Regions from separate parts of the Homo sapiens genome. Here region 1 is linked to region 2. Evidence: promoter capture Hi-C in human tissues and cell types (Jung and others, 2019). All regions are on one chromosome and are shown on one strand. Each heading gives the region's core, a stretch centred on a gene start or on the middle of the fragment in contact. The rest is flanking DNA. Distances are from core to core; before and after follow the strand shown. Region 1 overlaps MAGI1 (membrane associated guanylate kinase, WW and PDZ domain containing 1). Region 2 holds the start of MAGI1 (membrane associated guanylate kinase, WW and PDZ domain containing 1).

The links. The method cuts DNA at HindIII sites, captures the fragments that hold promoters and counts their contacts. A contact is called where the count stands out against the background at its distance.
Region 1: a fragment that was not itself captured here is called in contact with the fragment with the promoter of MAGI1 in region 2 in 1 of the 25 tissues and cell types used here (dorsolateral prefrontal cortex).

Annotation. Positions count from the first base shown.
Region 1 is chr3:65,831,680-65,835,943 of GRCh38, reverse strand. All of the region lies in intron 1 of MAGI1 (membrane associated guanylate kinase, WW and PDZ domain containing 1), which reads left to right. Among named protein-coding and RNA genes, the nearest start is that of MAGI1-AS1, 60 kb to the left of the region's middle. The HindIII fragment of the contact is 5,818 bases long and covers 1-4,264 here.
Region 2 is chr3:66,037,129-66,041,443 of GRCh38, reverse strand. It overlaps MAGI1 (membrane associated guanylate kinase, WW and PDZ domain containing 1), which reads left to right and starts at 2,526. Exons shown (of 23, transcript NM_001033057.2): 1 at 2,526-3,448. The coding sequence starts at 3,136. LOC105377128 (a long non-coding RNA gene) reads right to left here and starts at 2,491. Exons shown (of 2, transcript XR_001740440.2): 1 at 2,246-2,491; 2 at 1,150-1,392. RefSeq lists a silencer at 2,439-2,558 and an enhancer at 3,511-4,315. The HindIII fragment of the contact is 7,387 bases long and covers 681-4,315 here.

The DNA of each region.
Region 1 (4,264 bases), core at 1,253-3,752, 210 kb after region 2:
CCATACCAATTTTTATAATTAAAACAGGAATAAACAAGGTGCTTAATGTAATCTGCAAGGGAGAAACAGGGCGATTGAACAGAAGGGCTGCATTCTGGTTTCAAGCACAGGGCGGGAGAGTCTATATATGGTGCAGAGGGTGCTAAAATTGTAAATATAAATTCTTAAATCTGCCAAATAATGGTCTGTAAATAGTGTAAAATAAGAATGTTCTCATTTACATTTAAATAGTTTAGATTTCTTGTTTTTCACTACAAAAATATAATATTAGTGCAAATATTATCTGGCAATGAAAGTAAATACACCAGACAGAGTCGTTGATTTCTTGTATATAGTCATCTGTTTTCAAACACTGGCTTATCACGAATGGCCTTTATCATACTCATGAGTTCTATTTGTTAAAGTGGCAAGAATCAGAAACTCAGGAAATGCAAATGCATGGGATTAGGAAATTCATTGGCTTTGGGTTGAAAGTGAATATTTTCTCTACTTGCTTGATACAAGTTAACTTGCTGGTACATTTGTCATTGCTATTAAGTGGCCCCTTTAACACTATTTTCTCTTCCTGCCAGACAAGTCTGAAATAATGAATTTTTTAACGTCCTTATCATATAACTGTAGTTTCTTGTTTCCTTGATGTGAATAAGGTAGTTACATAGTACTTAGTCCCTGACAGTAAAATAAATATTATACCAGAGGGGCACTTAAAAATATTGTAGAAAAACCAAAATAGAGCTTTTAAAAAAGTTTAGGCAACCCAGAACAACGTAGAAAAAGTAAATTGGAGAAAAGAGAAACAGAGAAGAAACAGAAAACAAAAAATAGAATAAAAACCTTAAGACCTAACACATTAACAATTTTATTAAAAGCAAATGCTCTAAGAACATCAGTCGAAAGACAAGAGATTGGCAGCGTGGACTAAAACATGACCCAGCTATATGCTGTCTTCAAGAAACTCACTTCAAATGAAACAATATAGGCAGGTTCAAAGTAAAAGGATGGAAAAAGGTGTGTAATGCAAACACCAATCAAAAGAAAGCAGTAATGGCTGTATTAATGTCAGATAAAGTAGACTTCATAGCAAGTAAAATTACCAGAGACAGAGAGGGACATTTTATAATGATAAATAAAAGGGTCATTCCACCATGTCGACATAGCAATTCTAAATGCCTATGCAACAAACAAAAGACCTGCAAAATATGTGAAGCAAAAACTGCTAGAGATGAAAGAAGAAATAGATACATCCACAATTATAGTTGTAGACATCAAAACCCCTCTCTCAATAATTGATAGAACAACTAGAGAGAAAAATCAGCAAAAATGTGGAAGAACTCAACACCATCAGCTAACTGAATCTAATTGGCATTTATAGACCTTCCACCCAACAAAAGTAGAATAGATATTATTTTCAAGCACCTACAGATCGTATACCAAGAAAAACCATATCGTGAGCAGTAACACAAAGCATGAAATTTAAGAACTGAAATCATACAGAGTATATTCTCCAACCATAGTGGAATCAAAGTAGAAATCAATAAGAGAAAGATAGCTCCAGCTACTTGGACTTCCTGAGCTATTTCCTGAACATGTTAAGCTCATTCACACTGTTTGAGGTTTCTGTGTGGAATGCTCTTCCCTCAGATTTTTCTCCTGGATGATTCATTCTGAGCTTTAAATTCAATGCCATTTCAGAAACTTCTGTAATTACCCAATCTAAAGTAGCCTTTACAGAACCTCCTTTAGCTAATATCTTCATGTTCCTACCTCCTCTTACTTTCATACCGTCCTGTTATTTTCTTCTTAGCACTTATTATCTGAAGTTACCTTTGTTGTTTATCTATCAGCTGGTGTTAGGCATAAGAATTTCAGCTGCAGAAAAGTGGGAATTACATGTGTTGTGTTCACCACAGGATCCCCAGTGTCTAGGGAAGTAGGTGCTGAGTAAGAATTTGCAAATGGACTGTAGATTTCTGTTACATAGCTAGTCATGTGTACTAGTAATCTAAAGATATTTTCACTGCTACAGAAAGCCACTGGGGAGCTTGTGAAAGTTCATAAACTTTTTCCTGCATGCAAATGAAACTAAGAGATCTAGCCCCTCTCTCTTCAGCCAACTTTTGGCTTCATGTAATTGTTTACTCAATTAAGGAAACTTTTCTGGGAGCTCAGATTGTAGTAGGTTGAATATGCTCAAAAGCATGCTGAAGCCTGCCACCTAACTTGTGGAAAAAAGCTGGCACTTGCTTCAAGTTGGTTGTAATAACACAACAAAAATCTCATAAAGCCTGGAATTTAAAAATGAATATTCTCTATTTTATATGACATAGTAAAGACTTACAAATAGGTAAGTCGTCGATGATTACACTAGTAAATAGATATTTGAACATATACTTGCACATTCAGTGAAAGTTCATCTTCAGTCTTTCTGTTTTGAATTGGAGTTGTAACTATGCTGTTGGTCTCTGATGCTACTGGGGAAGCCGGAGAGATTGTATTGTATGGGTGTTAGAAGTTCAGTAGACCTAGGCCAGGCGTGGTGGCTCAAACCTGTAATCCCAGCACTTTGGGAGGCTGAGGCGGGCGGATCACTTGAGGTCAGGAGTTTGAAACCAGCCTGGCCAATATGGTGAAACCCCCTCTCTACTAAAACTACAAAAATTAGCTGAGCGTAGTGGTGCACGCCTGTGATCCCAGCTACTCGGGAGGTTTAGGTAGGAGAATCTCTTGAAGCCGGGAGACGGAGGTTGCAGTGACCCCAAGATCACATCAGTGCACTCCAGCCTGGGTGACAGAGTGAGATTCTGTCTCCCAAAAAAAAAAAGTTCAGTAGACCTCCATTCCAGTCCTAGCCCACTATTACTGATTGACCTGTTTGGAGATGTTGGAAAAGTCATTTATTTACCTTCCCAAGCTCCATTCATTCACTTCATCCATACAAATGGGAATATAATTGCACCATTGTAGAATTCTTGTGAGAATTTTAGTGAAATGTAGTAAGAATGCATATTTAATCTGCTTCCTTGATACAGTCATATACTGGGTGAAAGCAGTGAGTAGGATTCAAGCTCCCCCACATTGAGTAATAATAACCAGACTTGAAAACAAAATAGTATCCATAATGGTTTGCTATTTTCATCAAAGTGGATAGAGACCATGATGGTTAGATTGAAGGCAGATGCTTTGCCTGATGGGTAGTCATTTCAGTAAACATTAAATATCTCTTGTATGCCTGGAGCTGCCCTAGGATGTGGAGGTATAGAAATAAGAGGCTCAAGTCTTCTGAGAGAGATGGTCAGAAAAATGAATGGCTCCAAAACACATGGTAATTGTTGGAAGAGAAGCTTTGGGCTGAGTGCTTTTGTGGCACAGAGAAGGGAGCATCTAGCTTCATCCAGGAGTCTTGAAAGATGAATGAACAGAAGTTACTTGCCAAGCAGATAGGCATGGAAGACCATGTCGTATTCAGAGACATGCTAGCAGTTTGGTTATGAGGAATTGCTGTAAGCCTTTTATTCTTTTGTGATTCTCCATCCCTAGGAGTTTTCTTTTCAGTGTGTTCAGTTTCATTACATGTGCTAAAACCACACTGGAAGTCTTTATTGTTTTGAAGAATCTCTCTTAGCCCCTCCCTTGGCATCATTTGTAAAGGGCTTAACCAAATTATAAGGCACAAAGACTGCACAGAACCAGCTGCATTTGCAGGCACTGATTGGGAGACATCATTTCTGCCAGTTAAATGTGGTGCCTAGTGGATCTGCACTGTGATTTATGCTGATGGCTGTGCAGTTGTTGCCTTTCCAGCTGCAATTAAACATTAATCTTTGGGCAGTCAAGAGAAAGGTGCTCTGAAAAAGAGGGCTGGTTGGAAACATCAGAGACCAAAAGGCACTCTTGAATGATGACAGCAAAACGTTAAAGACCTCCTGATAAATGGTAATGTAAGGTCTCTCGAGATTATTGGCGCAATATGAAAGGCAAGGCCCCCACAATTATTACTCAACATTCAGTAAGTCCAGGAATGGGTAAAGTATGTGAATTGCAACTTTGGCAAGCTGTAACCTTGTGGCCCACATATGTGGTGACACATTTCAGATTTGCCTTTTTAAATTTCAAATCTGTAGTAAAGACTGCCACCTTTTATTTTCTCTTTAAAGCAAATGTATTTCAGAGAGGCATTTTATCTAAAACTTCCATTCACACAAGTAAATTCTCTCCAGTAGGTGCTTTTTAAATATTTGCAAAAATCTATGTGGAATTTTTTTGT
Region 2 (4,315 bases), core at 1,277-3,776:
GGTATTCTTAGCAAACAATTACACTTTACTAGAATATGAAGTGGCAAAGTGGGGAAACACACAAGGCTAAGCTTACTAAGCTTACTAATGATTTGCAGGGGAATCTGTGACTCCCCACTAACATGGAAAGTAAAAATGTACATTTTTGTGGAAAGAGTCATTTGACAAATATTTTAGCATTTGCTAGTACGAGGCACCATTCTAGGAACTGGGAATAATACATCAGTAAACCAAACTGTCAAAGTGTCCTGACCTCCTTGAGTTTTTATTTTACACAGAGATGTGGATCACAGGTTTATTTGACAAAAAGGTCTGGGACCCAAACAATGCTTTGGAATCAAGATACTAAACCTATGGTGCTCAGCGTTGTGTACCAACAACACATAAGGGGAACCTTAAAAGTTCAAATGACTTAGCCCTTCCTTGACATTCTGATTGGCTGGATCTGTGCTCGGGTTTGATAATTTATGTTTTGAAGTGCTGTTCATATTGACCTAGATTGCTTCTGAAAAAAAGCTGGAGACAAAGTTCCTCTCACCAAGCAAAGCCATGGAAAATTGGTCACCTCCTTTTTTCAGAAACACAACAATGCAATGGGATTTTCAGTTCTGGATATCCCAAGAGAGAAGCATCAACATCCCTCCTTACTTTTATTAGCTTAGAATAGCACCCTACAATGCTTTAAAAGGATGTTTAAACGTATGCCTAAACCAGGTATGGTGGCTCACATCTATAACCCCAGCACTTTGGGAAGCTGAGTCAGGAGGTTGGCTTGAGCCCAGGAGTTTGAGACCAGCCTGGGCAATCAACATAGGGAGACCCCCCCATGTCTACAAAAAATCAAAAAAATAAAACTAGCTGGGCATGGTGGCATGTGCCTATAATTCCAGATACTCAGGAGGCTGAGGTGGTAGGATTGCTTGAGTCCAGAAGTTCGAGGTTACAATCAGCTAGTCGAGCTACTGCACTCCAGCTTGGGGACAAAGCAAGACCACGTTTCTAAAAACACCACCACCACCATCAAAAAACAAACACACAAAGTATGCCCATATTTTCTAAGTTCTAGAAAGGAGAGGATAAATTATCATACTTACTAACTTGAATCCCCAAATGATTTCCCAATTTTCTTCCCAAATAGTAATACTACTATTAAGAATATAATGAGTTTTTATTATTTGCCACTTTATAAGTGTTTTCCCACGTAATACTTCCAAGAACCCTGTGAGGTCTTGTTCTACTTATTTGATCAGCGAGAAACGGAGGCGCGGAGGTCACCAAGCTTGCTCAAGGTCACACAAGGGTGGACCCCTGAGCCTACCTCTCAACCTCGACTGCTGTGTCCATCCTTTCTTCATCGTTTCAACGTACCCCCCTCATTTCTTGGAATCTCTCCTGTGACCAAAGATGAACAAAATTATACATCACTAAAGAGGAAAACAAACTGCTGGGGAGACTACTCAGCAGCCTGATTTGAGGAGTATTTGGGAAGGGCAGCCTTCCTGTGGTATGGGAGTCTTTCTGTCCGCCACCTCGCCGGGACAGAAGTCACTCCATCCGCACCCCCGGGCGACCTCCGGAGGCCGCAGCTACCCCCGGGCTGCGAATTCCGAGTTCTCTCACGCCCCCGCGGGCGCCAGGACGCAGGGCATGTCCGCGCCCGGCGGGGATCCTTATCTCCTGGCCCCGGAGTAGGTCCGCAGGCTTCTCGGCCCTGCCAGGAACTTGAGGCCGGGGCAGATGATTGACTGGGTCCAGCAGTCTCTGCTGGCAGGGCAGTTGAAAAGCTAGAGGGATCTCTTTTTTGGTTGAATACCTGAACCCACACTAGCACCATGGCTTCTCTCTCTTGCCTGTAGTTTCCCGTGTCCTAAAAAGTTGGTCCCAAAGTTTAAGGATGCGGGTGTGTGTAAGAGCGCGTGTGACCCGCACAGGGATCCCAGTTGGGGAACCGGAGGATCCCACCGTCCCCCTCCCCCGGGTCGCAGAGACCCTGGCAGACCCCGCGCCAGGACCCGAACCCGCAAGCGCAGGGCAGGCAGGGAGGCGGCGAGCGCCCCGGGGCGGGTCTCGGGGGTTTCAGTGGGACCTGCGGCAAGGGGGGCGGCGAACCAGCCGGGCTGGGTGACCGACAGCCTGGCCAGCCACTGGCCGAGGGCGGTTAGGAGGCTTAGGGCCGGCGCGAGTGCGTGCGCGTGTGCGTGAGTGTGAGCGCCAGGGTGAGTGTGGCAGCCTCCCCAACCCCCACCTGTTTGAAATGGTTTTCAAATGCCAAAGCCAGATTGCCCGGGTTTCAAAAGTTGCAAACAGTTGGAGTAAAACACGTGTGCGGCCCTCCAGCCCCAAAGGAATCCGCGGAGTCCAGGGCACTGAAAGAAAAGGAGAGAGGATAGGGGTTCAGGAAGGGTTGGGGGGGAGTTGCCTTCTCCCGGCAGGTCGGTTTTAGGACCCATCGGGAAGCACGTTGGAATCTCTCCCTTCGGGGAGGAGGGGAGGGGTGGGCCGGCCGGCTGGCGGCCGCGGGGCGCATGCGCGCGCGTCTCCTGTCGCCGGCCGCTGCGCTCCGCGGCGCGGAATAGAATGAACTGTAACAAAACAAGCCGAGCCTTTGTATCTGCTTAAAGGGGCCGCGAGCACTTACCTCCCGCCCTGCTCCCCGCCGCCCCGCCACCGCGTCTTCAGGGCTCCCGGCAACTGGCTGGAAGGGCTTCCCTCACCCTCAGTAACAGCCTGCCAGCGAGGAGAGGCGAGCCGGGCGGGAGGCAAAGAGGAGGCACCGCATTTGTAAAAGGCAAGAGAGAAAGGAAGGAAGGAAAAAAAAATAACCCGAGCGGCGCAGAGTGGACTCTGGTCCGGGAGAGCACGGGCGGGCGCCGGAACGTGGACCCAGAGGCACCGGAATGCAAACAAAGCTCGCGGGCGCCTGTGCGGGGCTCGCGGGGAAGCCCAGAAAGTTTGTTTTATGATGGCTTGAGTGCGCGAGCGTGTGCAGGGGAGCGAGGCTGCCAAGTTTCTCTCTCCTGTTTTGTGATTTGGGGAGAGATGTTTCTCCCATGAACAAGCGGAGGCTTGGGGGCTCGTGCTGTGGGGGGCACCTGTCTCTCGTTTTATTTTTTTGGAGGAGGGGTGTAACTCATCATGTCCAAAGTGATCCAGAAGAAGAACCACTGGACTAGCAGGGTTCACGAATGCACCGTGAAGCGGGGACCCCAGGGCGAGCTGGGGGTGACGGTGCTGGGAGGCGCGGAGCACGGGGAGTTTCCGTACGTCGGAGCGGTGGCGGCGGTCGAGGCAGCGGGGCTTCCCGGCGGCGGCGAGGGCCCGAGGCTGGGCGAAGGGGAGCTGCTTCTGGAGGTGCAGGGGGTCCGGGTGTCCGGCTTGCCCCGCTATGACGTGCTGGGGGTCATCGACAGCTGCAAGGAGGCCGTCACCTTCAAGGCCGTCAGACAAGGTAAGGCAGGGCGCGCCTTTGGGGGGCGCCCCGAGAAAAGGAGGGTGGTCTGTGGGCTGCCCCTTATTCTCGATTTCCTGCTTCCCTCCTCGGAGCGCAGTGAAGAGAAGTTGAGGCCGTGCGCCCTGTGGTGGCGGTGAAATACACAAAGTTGTTGCGAGGTTGAGGGTTGTTTGCCCACCTGCGTTTCGAAGAGGGGGCTGGGTTTGCGCAAGGTAGCGGGGGGACGTTTCTCAGGCCTGGCTGGCCAACCTGTTATCTCCGCCACTAAGTGCAGCGCAGTCTCGCCTGCACCCGAGAGAGAGTTGGGGAACTGAGTCAGGGGCATGGTGGACGCTGTCCTGGCTCCTTGGGGGAGGGATGCAGCTGGCGTTCTTTGGCCACGAGTCAGTTTCCATACCTGCTGAGTGGGTATACAGAAAGAGAGGGTCTGTAGTTTATTGGACCTCCCCCATCAGAAAATCTGCTTCACCCCGCGACCCCTCCAGGTGAGCTAGGACACCACTGCCTGGCGGTTCCTGAGCCCGCCGCCAGAAGAGCCTGCATTCACCCCTCAGCCGGATGACGCATGTGTCTCCACCGTGTGGCTCAGCCATACACTTGGGAGGGGGAGAGGGGGAAGGGGTGCTTGCTTTTAGCTCGAATCGGGTCCAAGTTTACCCTCCCACCACCACCATCATCGTCATTATTGATGATGAAAATGAAGCTACTATTCATTGTTGGTTTACTACATGCCCGGCTCTGTGTAAAATACTTTACTTGCACTATCTCACTCCGATTCACAACAGTTCTAAGAACGAGTTGTTCTTATTTATATACCCCAAATTAGAGATAAGGAAACTGGGATTGATACTGGTTAAGTGACTT